Regions from separate parts of the Homo sapiens genome. Here region 1 is linked to region 2. The links are contacts of gene promoters, found by promoter capture Hi-C in blood cells and fetal thymus (Javierre and others, 2016). All regions are on one chromosome and are shown on one strand. The core of a region is centred on a gene start or on the middle of the fragment in contact, and the rest is flanking DNA. Distances in the headings are between cores, read along the strand shown. Region 1 overlaps LOC105371777 (a long non-coding RNA gene). Region 2 holds the start of EIF1 (eukaryotic translation initiation factor 1).

The links. Contacts are between HindIII fragments. The CHiCAGO score rates a contact against its expected background, and 5 or more counts as called.
Region 1: a contact is called between a fragment that was not itself captured here and the fragment with the promoter of EIF1 in region 2, in 5 of 17 cell types (activated CD4 T cells, non-activated CD4 T cells, naive CD8 T cells and 2 more). The highest score is 10.5, in activated CD4 T cells.

The regions. Positions count from the first base shown.
Region 1 is chr17:40,907,626-40,914,452 of GRCh38, forward strand. All of the region lies in intron 1 of LOC105371777 (a long non-coding RNA gene), which reads left to right. Among named protein-coding and RNA genes, the nearest start is that of KRT20, 26 kb to the left of the region's middle. The HindIII fragment of the contact is 4,061 bases long and covers 1,110-5,170 here.
Region 2 is chr17:41,686,934-41,694,388 of GRCh38, forward strand. EIF1 (eukaryotic translation initiation factor 1) reads left to right here and starts at 1,952. Exons shown (of 4, transcript NM_005801.4): 1 at 1,952-2,136; 2 at 2,845-3,008; 3 at 3,155-3,256; 4 at 3,849-5,735. The coding sequence starts at 2,106. The coding sequence ends at 3,893. RefSeq lists enhancers at 1,653-2,561, 2,547-2,636, 2,562-3,470 and a silencer at 1,777-2,166. The HindIII fragment of the contact is 2,180 bases long and covers 1,732-3,911 here.

The DNA.
Region 1 (6,827 bases), core at 1,890-4,389, 780 kb before region 2:
GGTTCACGCCATTCTCCTGCCTCAGCCTCCCGAGTAGCTGCGACTACAGGCGCCCACCACCAGACCTGGCTAATTTTTTGTATTTTTAGTAGAGATGGGGTTTCACCGTGTTAGCCAGGATGGTCTCGATCTCCTGACATCGTGACCTGCCCGCCTCAGCCTCCCAAAGTGCTGGGATTACAGGTGTGAGCCACTGTGCCCAGCCTCTATCCCCAGTTTTATATTGAATTATAATTAGATTCAAAAGAAACCTTTCAGCCAGTGGTCCTCATCCTTAAACTGCATATTGGAATCTCCTGGGAGACGTAATGTTGTAGGCTAAGGATATAATTCAGGCTATTACTGAATTATAAAGCGTGCTGTGTTCATATCCTGGAGGATGGAATTGGGTCACAGTGTTTTCAAGTCTGAAAAATCAGATGCCATAGTTCTTTGTGTTTTTAAGTTAGAGTCCATTGCCTTAAGTCCTCATGGGCATTTTAAGAAATAGATCAAAGTATTTGATGAGCTCAGGGTATGGGCACCCATACTTTCTCCTCGCTTTATCCTTCAAATTAGTCTACTTAGAATTTGCTTTTAAATTTCTGCCTAATTTTAAAAAGACAATTGTGGGACTGAGTTGCTGTCCTACCCTTTTTCTTTAATTGTTATTTGACTTCAGACTCTTCCTATAACTCATGTGTGTGTGGGTGACACTCCTCTGAAAAATGGGCCAACAGAAGGGCTTATTATTTGGGCCACTGTGGTCATGAAACCCAGGTTCACATTGATTTTATTGCAAAATTTAGATACATGCACCAGTCCACATGTTAATTTGCTTAGTATTCTTACCTTTTAAAATGTTTTTGCTTCTCAGACCCTTGTGATTTCAAGTCAGAAGTCCCTGACCTCTTAATGCTTGTTTTTTTTTTGTTTTTTTTGACACAGTCTGCATCTATCCCAGCCTCAGTCCTCAACTTCCACTGCTCTGTGTAGCATAATCCCCATGCAGTCCCACAGTTACAGTCAACAGGGCCTTTCCTCCATCTATTAGCAAACATTCCTGTTCTTAGAGCCTCAGAGAGTGAGGCAATGACAGGATCACGATTTTAACATTTCCCCTTTCCTGAAGCTTCTTTATTGGGACACTGGTGTTAAAAAGGAAAAAAAAAAACAGCTTAATTAAAAATTTTTATGTATCATGTGGAGCAGGGTTGCCTAAATGAGAAAAAGATACTTGAAATCCCAGCCTCTATTTTCATCAGTCAGAGGAATTCAGAGGAGGCTCAGGAAAATTGTGAGGACAGAGGGCTGTGTCCTGAGTCCCTAGCCTACAATCCCTGTGTCCATCAGTCAAGGAGGGCAGCCTCATCACAGCTGCAGGCTCTCCTGCATATCTTTGTCAATTGTCGACCGACTAATTCTATTCAGGTTGCCTTTTGTAGGGGTCAGCAGAGTAGGATCCTGGCAATTTCATATGATTAAAACTATTTTGAACAAGACCCTTGGCTAGGATCTGTTTCAAACGATGAAGAAAGTTCTTTTTTCATTGTTACAGGAATTGTGTTTAATGAGATGTAGAAGGCTGTAGTGTAAAACTTTTTTTTAAATGGGGTTAGGAGGTTTAAGGGAGATAATTGAAAACCTGGTTATCTCTTGTTTTAGTAGTGGTTCTTTGCTGCTGTACATGTAACACAAACTACTTGAATTTCAAGATGCTACCATCCCTTGGGCATGAATTATGAATGTTTGATATTCCTTGATTCCATCACAGGACTTGTATGGTTGATCTTTGTCCAACCCGAGCCTTGGATCAGGAAAAAGGATGAGTTCGGGTTTATGTTGCCCTATAGCCAGCAGGGGGTGTTCGTGGCCTTCCTATTCCAAAAGGCCGCAGCACCCTCTCCCAGGCTCCGGGTGAAACTGGTTTGTGAGTCACCATTACCATCCTTCTTTCTCTGTTCAAATTGGCATTTTACCAAGAACAGCATTACTTCTGAGTGAGCAACAGCTGACCAATTATCTTGAAAAATATTTGGGAAGCTATACAATTTTAAAAGTGAAAAGCAAAATATATCTTCTATTTTTAACTTGTTCCCTAAACATGAATTACCTGGGGGAAAAGCAGATGCTTTTCAATCTTTTAAATGATTGCACCTATTCTAAACCATCCAGGTGTTTTTGAAATGACCCACAGTCATCTTTAATAGCATGCGAAGGGGCCAAGGCCCTCTCAACTTTAGATTTAATAGCCTGCCCCCTTCAATTGTCAGAGATATTGACAGAGATAGGCCTGACTGTTCTGCTGTAATTTCAACTCATTTTCTCCTGCTCTAATATCTATAGTACGGGATGGACTTTTTTTTTTTCTTTTCTGTAGAGGCCAGGTCATAAATATTTAGGCTGTGTGGGCTGGAGAGACTGTTGCAACTACTCAACTCTGCTGTCCTTGTGCAAGAGCAGCTGTAGACAATATGCAAACAAACGTTCATGACTGTGTCCTAATAAACTTTATTTGTAATTTGGCCACGCCCTATCTTATTGATAGCCCTCCAAAACGTCAGTATCTTCCATATATCTGTTATTTTATGTTGTTTATAAACTCAAACTCTTCTCCGATTAAGAGGAAAATAATCGAATCTGAAAGTCCCTCAGGTTCAACTCCTTTCCCAATGCCTGGTCCCCCTTATAACACTCTTGACAAGCATCTTTGCCCACTGCTCGGAACTCTCATGCTTTGTGTCTTCCCTGCAACACAAGCAGTGGCCCCGAAGAGCAGACAGCGTGATACAAATGCACAGAAGTTTTTAAGGAGATAGCACAACAATTTAGAAACTAAGGCTGCTGGAATGATGAGCTTTTAATCTTTTCATTCATCGCAGGGTTTAATCCATATTTGAAAAGAAAGATGCCACAGTATAAAGCTGACAGGCACTGACTGGCCTGAAATATCTCAGGAAAATCTGGTTTCAGATTTTTCTAGGAGTTGATCCAAGAACATTTTTCTTTCTGCCTTTTGATCTGTTGAAAGATCCACAAGATACTTGGATGCCTTGAAGACATAAATGCCAGTACAGAAATAAACTCTGACGAGTTGTCTTGTAAAGGGAGCCAGCTCTTAGAGAAGGGATCATTGTAAGGGTAGGAACTGAAACTTTTTTGTCTACTACCTGACATTCTCAAACCCTTCTTTCCTTTGTACTTTTTCTGTGAACAGATGGTTTCGTCCAGCTTGGAGTGGGTTTAGGGGAGACTGAGAAAACAAGACGGCTGCCTGCAGTTTTAGTCTCTCTTTACCCATCTTAAACTTTTTCTTCCCCTCTCCATTTTTGAGAGCAAGAGGTTACATGCTCCCTTTCCTCCTGTAGAAGAAACATTTAGCTGGGGCTGACACAATGGCGAGGACATGAGAAATGACCACAGGAGAAGCCCTGGAGGCAGAAGACTAGGTCTTTGCCCCTTTTACAGTGAGATAGTTTTATATAAATATCAGAGGTTACTGGAGGCACCCAAACAAAATTGAGGACAGGAAGCAAATATCTGAGAGGCTCCCAAACCTCGATGTACTGTGGGACCCAAACGAGCACGTGAATCCCTTCTAGATATCCTTTGGATCCTTTAAGAGTAGCACAGGCGGGGCGCGACGTTTCACGGCTGTAATCCCAACACTTTGGGAGGCCGAGGCGGGCGGATCACGGGGTCAAGAGATCGAGACCATCCTGGCCTACGTGGTGAAACCCCGTCTCTACTAAAGATACAAAAATTAGCTAGGCATGGTGTCATGTGCCTGTAGTCCCAGCTACTCGGGAGGCTGAGGCAGGAGAATTGCTTGAACCTGGGAGGCAGAGGTTGCAGCGAGCCGAGATCGTGACACTGCACTCCAGCCTGGCGACAGAGCGAAACTCTGTCTCAAACAAACAAATAAATAAATAAATAAAGAGTAGCAGATACCACTTATAAAGTTTTATTATAAAGAATTATTGGAGTTGGCTATGAATTCTCCTCCTTACTCACGTCTGGTGGGGCAAAACGGGGAGGATCAGATACTATGAAGACAAAGATACTGGAAATAGATCAAAGCCTTGAATTCCCAGCCCCAGACTCTACCCACCATGATCCCTACCTGCAGGGGTCTGGGTTCCTCTTGCCCAGCCTGCTCAATCTCTGACCCCCTAGCATGGGTCTCTGGCTTGCTCAGAGGTGCAGGCTCCCAGCTCCCCTTCTCCAGTCGCCTGAAGACTCAGTGGTTCCTCTCTGAAGGATGTAGTTTTAACCTTTGTTTGCTGTAAAAACATATAGCAGGCAAGTGCTTGTCACAAGGGGACTTATTTCTTCCTTCTGCTTCATGTGATGGGGAGGGTCCGGCTGTGGATATCTGCTGTGCTAAGACAGCCACAGTGTGGTCTAAGACAGAGCCTGGTCTTGGCCACTCTGATATCTGGCTGACTGAGAGACAGTGTGGATGGGTGGAAGAGGGCAGTCTTGCATGCTGTCATCTCCTCCCTAGGGCCCTATTGACCTTTGGTGGATCCACACTTGAGGTGTGGACAGAGGAGAGAGACAGAGAATGCCTTGTCTCCTGTAGAAAGGCCTCTTCTGGAAACTTCCAAGCACCTAACATTGTAGGAGGAGAATAGGAGACTGAGAGAGAAATATAAAAAGCCATGTTCCCACAGTAAGCTCTCCTACCACTGGCTCAGCCTCCTGTCCATTTGGGAATGATTAGAGATGCTACCTCCTTCCTCAGGGCTGCCAACTACAAGTGCGCAGCCTCCCCCAACTCTTAGCACTGTAGCCAGGTGTAGTTATAAATAAACGTTGGGGTGACTTATCCTTGTGTGATGTGTGTAAGTTAGCCCTTTCTTTGATTAACTATAAATACGTAAATTAGATATTCCCTGGTTTCCCCAAACACTGGTAGTAGTGAATTTTCTTGGAATGCCCTTCTTTGGTCTGCTGGCTGATTATTATTTTCAGACGACACTAATGACGGCCCAGGTGTGATGTCTACAAAGCCCCACATTAAGGCGCTTGCGTAGCAAACCTGCCATTCAGGTAATGACGGCCGCCCTCTGGAAAAACAAGCTGAGACCATACCGGGGAAGGCCTTGGATACTTGAGAAGGGTGTGAGGCCAGTCACAGGAGTTGACTCGGTGGAACGGGGCATAAGAGTTACGGGTGGCTTTATGAAGCTTTTGTTGAGTGTGGGAGGGTGGAAAGAGCTTTACTGAAGAGACATGTTTTCTGTTTCCCAGTTCAAATCAATTTCCTTATCATGATACAAGCAAGGGTAATAATTATTAGGATTATTTACCATGATTATGGGTGACAGGAATTGCAGTTGGGCAAAGGGACTCTTTTGTATATTGTAATTTCCTTCCCTAAAGTTCTAGCTTCCTTATTTTGTCTTCCTAATAGTGACTCACACCGCAGTAGGCAGGAAGCAGGTATTTAATGACCACTTCTTCACTGGTTCTTTATTCCAACTCCATTCATTCCAATACAAATTTCTTGAAAACAAAGAATAATGACATCCATAACACAAATGAAAGCAGCCTGTCTAAGCTGATTTAATTTAGTATGGAATAGGACGCAATTTCACAGTTAGAGTTATTGTTGTTTATTTTTTTTTATTATTTTTTTTTTTTCAGATGGAGTCTCTCTCTGTCGCCCAGGCTGGAGTGCAGTGGCGCAATCTCGGCTCACTGCAAGCTCCGCCTCCCGGGTTCACGCCACTCTCCTGCCTCAGCCTCCCGAATAGCTGGGACTACAGGCACCCGCCACCATGCCTGGCTAATTTTTTGTATTTTTAGTAGAGACGGGGTTTCACCGGGTTAGCCTGGATGGTCTCCATCTCCTGACCTCGTGATCCACCCGCCTCGGCCTCCCAAAGTGCTGGGATTACAGGCATGAGCCACTGCGTCTGGCTGTTGTTTTTATTCTTAAAACTTCAGCCATCATTTGGTTCACTGAAGAAAGAAATGGCCCTTGAAGAGAATTTAGAAAGATTTTTATAAGTGAATACTCACTTATACATAAATATAGACGTATATTTTTTAGTGCTAGTTAGCTAACACAATAGACAATCCTGGACAAGTGTTTTCCATCCTCTCCTGTGAATCTGATTTGTGAACCTCTCATAGCTTTTACTACGCATGGAGTCCAGGAAAAATTTGGGACAAAGTGATCGATCTTAATTTCTAGACTTCATTCTGTCTTCTGTTCTTGGTGAGAACCTAAGAAACATCTTCCTTCCAGGCCTGACTTAGTGCTCTTGCAGGTTTAGCTTGCTTGGAGCAAGACTGTGCTAGTGGGATTCTAACGATGCCACCTTTCCTGCTGTGTTGTTTATCCTGTTCAGTTGATAGAGGACCTATTGAGACTGGTTTATAGACACGACACTCACTGTGGGGAATGCATCGAATTGCTAATTGATCAAAATCACCCATAATCTTGCGACTCGTGGATCAGCAGCCTTAGCATCCTCTGGGAGCTTGTTAGATGTCCAAAATCTTGGGCCTCAACCCAGAACAATTAGATCAGAATCTGCATTTTAACAAGATCCCCATATGATAAGTATGCACATTAAGATTTCGGAAGCACTGACATATAAGGCTTGGGACTGGGTGGTGACCTGAAACTACTGCTTCCTAGGGTGCTGGGGATGATACATGAACATTTTCACAATATTTTTTTTGTGATGAATCTCTGGATAAAATATTCTCAGCTGATGACTGTTGATGGTATTGGGTGTATCTGTGGCCTGTCCATTATTACTACCCTGTCTTTGTCTTTCTTGTCCTATCATATTCTGTGAGTGTGTGGGGAAAGAAAATTTTGATAGAAA
Region 2 (7,455 bases), core at 702-3,201:
CCTCTGTCAGCCAGAATGCTGCCTCCCCAGAGGCCTTCTCTGACCACCCCATCTGAAGGAGCCTGGCCCTTTCACATCACCCTGTTTACCTCCTTTTTGGCACCTCTCACAATCTGTCATTATCCTTTTTTTTTTTTTTTTGAGACATAGTCTTGCTCTGTCGCCCAGGCTGGAGTGCAATGGCGCCATCTTGGCTCACTGCAGTCTCCTCTTCCCGGGTTCAAATAATTATTGTGCCTCGGCCTCCCGAGTAGCTGGGACTACAGGCACACGCCACCACGCCCAGCTAATTTTTGTATTTTTAGTAGAGACAGGGTTTCACCATATTGGCCAGGCTGGTCTCGAACTCCTGACCTCGGGTGATCCGCCCACCTCAGCCTCCCAAAGTGCTGGGATTACAGGCATAAGCCACAGCGCCCAGCCTCATTATCTTATTATTTGTTTAGTGGCTCTCTCTCCCGCTGGCCTTCAACTCCACAAGGGCAGTGACCCTGACTGTCAGGGACATAAACCAGCAGTCCATGGGCATGCATATTTTTGTTTGGCTTGCAGTGTTGTATCAAAAATTCAATTTATTCCTGTAATCCCAGCACTTTGGAAGGCCGAGGCAGGCAGATCACCTGAGGTCAGGAGTTCAAGACCAGCCTGGCCAACATGGTGAAAACCCATCTCTACTAAAAATATTTTTAAAAAACTAGCCGGGCGTGGTGGTGGATGCCTGTAACCCCAACTACTCGGGAGGCTGAGGCAGAAGAATTGCTTGAACCCAGGAGACGGAGGTTACAGTGAGCCGACACAGTGCCACTGCACTCCAGCCTCGGCGACAAAGTGAGACTCTGTCTCAAAAAAAAAATCAATTTATTGGCAATATTTAAAAATCAAGAGATTTTATGTAAACACCTGGATTTCCTGGCACTCTTGAAAAAGATCTAGCACAATGGGCTGGAGGTGAGCGGCCACTGCAGCCCGTAGTTCTTACTCCAGCCCCCAGTCCACCCCATTACATCACACTTGGCTGTTTGCACTCCTTGATCCTACTTACCTGCCTATCCCCGGAGGCCTTTGAGTCTAAAATTCCTGGTCTCTTTTCACCACTCTACTTACCCCTACAACTGAGTGTTGAAATAAATAAACTGAAAGCAAGAAAGGTTGACTGTTTTGAAGGAAATATTTCATCTAAACTCTAGGAAGGCTCTACTCCACACAAGCTGTGCCACATGAAGGACGCCCTCTGGTGCCAGAATTATTCTCGGGGGGGCCCAGAACCAGTTACTATACCTTGAACTCATGCCAATGAGCTGGGCACACTTTTTCCTTAGATGGATTAATCTAATCTAAATGAAAATTTTAGATCGGATTAACCCACTTTAGAATAAATCTAAATGGCAATCTAAATTATGCGGTTACCGTTTTGATTATATTATTGTATGTTGATTAATCAAAGTGCCGCCCTAAATCCCGCTGTGACTCCGTGGGTAGTAGGGTGGGTAGGTAGGTGGGTTTGACACAACGGGGATTTCTCGTGTTTGGGAGGCTCATCATCTAAATCCTCTCTAAGGAGTGTTCATTTACCATATGAAACTCCCCTTTTCGAGAAGACAGGGATGCAACAGGGTCAAGAAGGTGGAACGTACCAAAGGACACAGTGCGTAGGCGCGCTCGAAACCTGGGCCGGTATTCTCGGCACCCAGACACCGTCCACTCGCACTGCGCAGGCTCCGAGACAGATCAAGCTTTCCCTCCCCCTCCCAGCTCTCCTAGAGTCAAGAGGACGCCCTCCTGCCGCAGACTTCCTGCGCAAGCGCCATCCCATGTCCCCGCCTCCAAACCAATTGGAAGCGGCGCCGCCTGGGCGCTTGGGGCACGACGCTGTGGGTGGGGTCAGGACGTGAGGGCAGCGCGCTGGCGTCAGAGGCGCGGCTATATAACTAAACACAGGCACCGCCCCTCTGCCCCAGTCACTGAGCCGCCGCCGAGGATTCAGCAGCCTCCCCCTTGAGCCCCCTCGCTTCCCGACGTTCCGTTCCCCCCTGCCCGCCTTCTCCCGCCACCGCCGCCGCCGCCTTCCGCAGGCCGTTTCCACCGAGGAAAAGGAATCGTATCGTATGTCCGCTATCCAGAACCTCCACTCTTTCGGTAAGCTATGGGAAAGGTCGCGGGCCCGGGTGGGGCAGCGGGGCCTTCCGGGCCCGGAGACGTGTTCCGGGAAGTTGCCAAGCGCTCCGGGCCTTCGTAAGCTCGGGCAGGGGAAACTTGACCAGGGTCGCAGGGCAGCGGGATCAAGGCCTGGGCCCCGGGGTCGGACCCTGAGCGCGACCGGAAGGAGCAGGCGGTAGGTCAGCCCTTGGGCGGGCCCGGCGTCTCAGTGGCGCATTTACTAATGGCTCCTGGGCCTCCTCGGGCCACACCCGCCCCTCCCGTCACCATTGCGTCACGTCCGTTACGTCACCACCCGTTGTCACGGATCCGGAGGGAAAGGCGGTGCCAGCCCTAAGTGGCAAGCGGGTGCACCAATGGGGGTGGGAGGCTTAGCCCCGCCTCGGGAGCTCGGGTTCCGGCGGGTTGCATCAGCTGGGTGGGGCACCGCCTGGCAGCCCGGACTCCCCCGACATGTGATCGGCTTCCCAGGGAGGGCGGGAGGCCCGGGCGTTCCCCGAGCCTGGGGAAGCTGGCCGTCCCGGACTGACCTGCTCGGGGAGAGCCAGCAAAGGACACATTCGGCCTGGCCCAAGCCCTGACGATTTCAGTGTTGTTTTCTGCACGCGCAAAACACCTGGGGACCGAGGGGATGGCAGTGGCATCCTATCTTTGACAGCTCTGAACGAGCTTAACCTTTTTTTTCAGACCCCTTTGCTGATGCAAGTAAGGGTGATGACCTGCTTCCTGCTGGCACTGAGGATTATATCCATATAAGAATTCAACAGAGAAACGGCAGGAAGACCCTTACTACTGTCCAAGGGATCGCTGATGATTACGATAAAAAGAAACTAGTGAAGGCGTTTAAGAAAGTAGGTCTTCAGTGAGATTTTGGGAAAGTCATAATGGATTTGTCCACAAGGGGGTGCCAGCTGTGTTGTATGTATTGTTAGCGGAAGGGGTGATAAATGCGTTCATGCTCTTGCTAGGCCTAATTCGTTTTCCTTTGTGCTTGCAGAAGTTTGCCTGCAATGGTACTGTAATTGAGCATCCGGAATATGGAGAAGTAATTCAGCTACAGGGTGACCAACGCAAGAACATATGCCAGTTCCTCGTAGAGGTGAGTTCAGTCACTACTTGATTTGTGCCTCTCTGCTGGCAAATCTCAGATCCTGTCTGTTAGCTTCTGCTGGGGACATAAAAGTTGGCTTTGTAAGGCTGAGCAAAACCTCAGTTGGGTTTTAAAGTACATAGACTTATTTCTGTTTTATAGGAAAAAGCAGAAGGGACTTGTCTACCTTTGGTTTACTGTTTCTGTGGATCTACTTCACAGATGCAAATTTGAATAGCATATAGATGCATTGTAAAATAAGCCAAATGCTGGGTTGTTCCTGTATTTGTAAGGACATGAGTTTTTAAAAATGAATTTCCTGAGTATTAATACTAAAATACTGTTACATGATCAGCTCTTGATATAATTGAAGAGATTTCAGATACCTGATGAGTCTCATTCTCACACTAATTCAGAACCTTGGAAGGCACTGAGTGTTCAAAAAAGGTAGCTCTTAACTGAGGACCCTCTGTTGAACCATTGTGCGCACCCCTGGCTCTTGGGCAGTGTAGTAGCAGGAAGACAGGGTTGTTGCCATTAGAAATGGAGGCTTTAACTCTCCCTGTCCCCCATTTAAAACTTTGCCCTTTTGTCTTTTCAGATTGGACTGGCTAAGGACGATCAGCTGAAGGTTCATGGGTTTTAAGTGCTTGTGGCTCACTGAAGCTTAAGTGAGGATTTCCTTGCAATGAGTAGAATTTCCCTTCTCTCCCTTGTCACAGGTTTAAAAACCTCACAGCTTGTATAATGTAACCATTTGGGGTCCGCTTTTAACTTGGACTAGTGTAACTCCTTCATGCAATAAACTGAAAAGAGCCATGCTGTCTAGTCTTGAAGTCCCTCATTTAAACAGAGGTCAAGCAATAGGCGCCTGGCAGTGTCAAGCCTGAAACCAAGCAATACCGTCATGTTTCAGCCAAGCCCAGAGCCCTAAGATTACAAACAACTATGGCCGGAACCTCCTCAGCTCTCCCTCTGCAGAGTTCCCTACCCTAAGAGAATGTTACCACCTGAACAGTCCTCGGTGAATCTGAGAGGAGAGGATGGGGTAAGGCAGAAGCACCAGCTGTACTACTAGAAGGGAGCTTTTGGTGGTAGATCCCCTGGTGTCTCCAACCTGACTAGGTGGACAGAGCTCAAAGAGGCCCTCTTACCGCTAGCGAGGTGATAGGACATCTGGCTTGCCACAAAGGTCTGTTCGACCAGACATATCCTAGCTAAGGGATGTCCAAACATCAGAATGTGAGGCCAACCTTCTATCAGAGTTAAACTTTTGACAAGGGAACAAATCTCAAACTGATCCATCAGTCATGTAGCTAGCTGTAGAGCTTGCAACTTAATAGCAGCAGCTGCCCAATGCCATGTGAAGTAACAAACTGGTTTTTGGTTTTTTTTTCCCCTTCAGTTTTAATGTTATGTGTAATGTATTTAAACCCTTATTTAAATAAAACTTGTTTTCAGAAATACCTGACTTGCAGATTATTTATATATAGTCGATCTTGTGCATATAAAGGAACCATAGAAATGGGCAGTGGAGGATTCGTCCACACCCACAGCTTCTCAACGGGCCTGAATTTGGCCAAGAAAAACCTTTATGAGCTTGTCCCTCTCTGGTCAACTGGTTTTTTGTTCGTTTGTTTTTTGAGACAGGTTTGCCCTTGTTGCCCAGGCTGGAGTGCAGTGGCACAATCTCGGCTCACTGCAACCTCCACCTCAGGTTCAAGCAATTGTCGTGCCTCAGCCTCCCTAGTAGCTGGGATTACAGGCACCATGCCCAGCTAACTTTTGTATTTTTAGTAGAGACAGGGTTTCTCCATGTTGGCCAGGCTGGTCTTGAACACCTGGCCTCAAGTGATCTGCCTGTCTTGGCCTCCCAAAGTGCTGGGATTACAGGCATGAGCCACCATGCCCAGCAGGTCAACTGTTTTTGCAAGCATTTAGCCAGAGTCATGCTGTGCTGTTAATCAGTGTCCTGGAGAATGGGTTGCTTGGAAATCTTGGCGCCCCCTCAGTAGTAACAGCCTTGGTTTAAGGGCGCAGAGTGGAGAGTAAATGCAAGGGCTATAACAAGGGCATTCATGCTGTGGGTTAAGATCCACAAATCGCTAGGAATGTGTATACTCTGGGTAGTAAGTTTGTAGTATTAGAAGGTTTAATGACAAGTATTTGAAGAGCTGAAGTTAAGTGTTGGGAGGCCATCCCTTATGAAGGACAATGAATGGCAAGTAAAAGACCAAGTTCTGTTCCTGGGTCCATTAATTTAGTTAAAAAGGCAAAGTTCTTTCAGCACACATATCTGCATGCAGTCACGTGCTGCCTAAGGATGCTTCATTCAACAATGAGCCTCACAGCCGTGCTACACAATAAGATTATAATACTGTATTTTTACTGTACCTTTTAACATTGTGTTACAATGGCCTACAAGAAGCTTGTGTGGATGGCTTTGAATGTGGCCCAACACGAACTAATAAATTTTGCTAAAACATGAGTTTTGTTTGGTGACTTTTTTTTTTTTCTTTTTAGTTCATCAGCTATTGTTGGTGTATTTTATGTGTGGCCCAAGACAATTCTTCCAGTGTGGCCCAGGGAAGTGAAAAGATACGACACCCCTGGCCTACAATTTCAGCACAGTAACGTGCTGTACAGGTTTGTAGCCTAGGAGCAACAGGCTGTGTCATATAACCTAGGCATGTAGTAGGCTGTGCCATCCAGGTGTGCGTAAGTACACGATGATGTTCGTAGAAAACACAAAATCGCCTAACGATGCGTTTCTCAAAACATGTCCCTGTCATTGAGTAATGCAAGACTACTAAGTTTACTACCAGCCCATTTTGTAGATAAAGGTACAAGCGGTGAGTTAGGTTAGAGCCCAGGTTGGGAAAGAGCATAGAACCAGGTGAGTTGTGGAGGAGGGCTGGTGAGGTTGAGCCAATGGCAACTGCCCTAAAACTAGGAGGTGATTGTGTTAGAATACAGCAGACTGAATAATTGATAGAGATTTATTTGGCTCACAGAAGTCGAAAGGCATGGCATTGGCATCTGGTGAGGGCCTTCTTACTGCATCATAACATGGTGGAAGGGCTGGACAGCAAATGGGGGCCAAACCTATACTGTTGTGAGCCCACTTCATTCATGAGGGCAGAGGCTCAGGACCTAATACCTTTAAAAACCCCACCTTGGCCAGCCACAGTTGCTCACACCTGTAATCCCAGCACTTGCCAAGGGGGGTGAATCCTTGAGACCAACCTGGGCAACGTGGCACAACCCTATCTCTACAAACAATACAAAAATTAGCCAGGCATGATGGCACACACCTGTAGTCCCAGCTACTTAGGAGGCTGAGGCAGGAGGAAGGACGATCACTGGTGCCCAGGAAGCCAAGGCTATAGTTAGCTGTGATCATGTCACTGCCACTGTACTCCAGCCTGGGTGACAGAGTCTCCAAAAAAAAAAAAAAAAAAGCGCCCCACCTCCCAATAACTGTTCAATTGGCAATTAAATTTCAACATGGGTTTTGGTTTGGGTGGAGCATTCAAACTATAGCAATGATTCTAACCCCAGCATCAGGAGCTTGTCGTGTTAAAGGTCCTACAAAACCAGTCTGTTTCATGAACACAAAATAATTTAGCCTTGGAGCCAACCAAGGCTCCAAATACAGTGGCATTGTTCAAAATATTTGAGTGAATTTTTTTTTTTTTTGAGATGGAGTCTTGCTCTGTTGCCCAGACTGGAGTGCAATGGCACGGTCTCGCCTCACTACAGTTTCTGCCTCCCAGGTTCGAGCGATTCTCCTGCCTCAGCCTCCCGAGTAGCTGGGACTACAGGCACGTGCCACCACGACTGGCTAATTTTTGTATTTTTAGTAGAGACAGGGTTTCACCATGTTGGCCAGGATGGTCCCGATCTCCTTGACCTTGTGATCCGCCTGCCTCAGCCTCCCAAAGTGCTGGGATTACAGGCATGAGCACCGTGCCTGGCTGGGTGAGACTTTTAAATCAGTAAGATTTGACTGTAATGTAGGAGGTTTTTTCTTGGAGGAACTTCTAGAGCAAGGCGGGAGGCCAAACACACAAAATACTACAATCAGGATGAAACAGCAAGAGAAGAGAATTCCTTCTATGCTGTAGGTTGTGAACACGGCCAGGTTCTGTGCTAGGCTGTTCCATCTCATGCTTTTTAAGGACCTCCAATTCTCTAGGATGGGATTA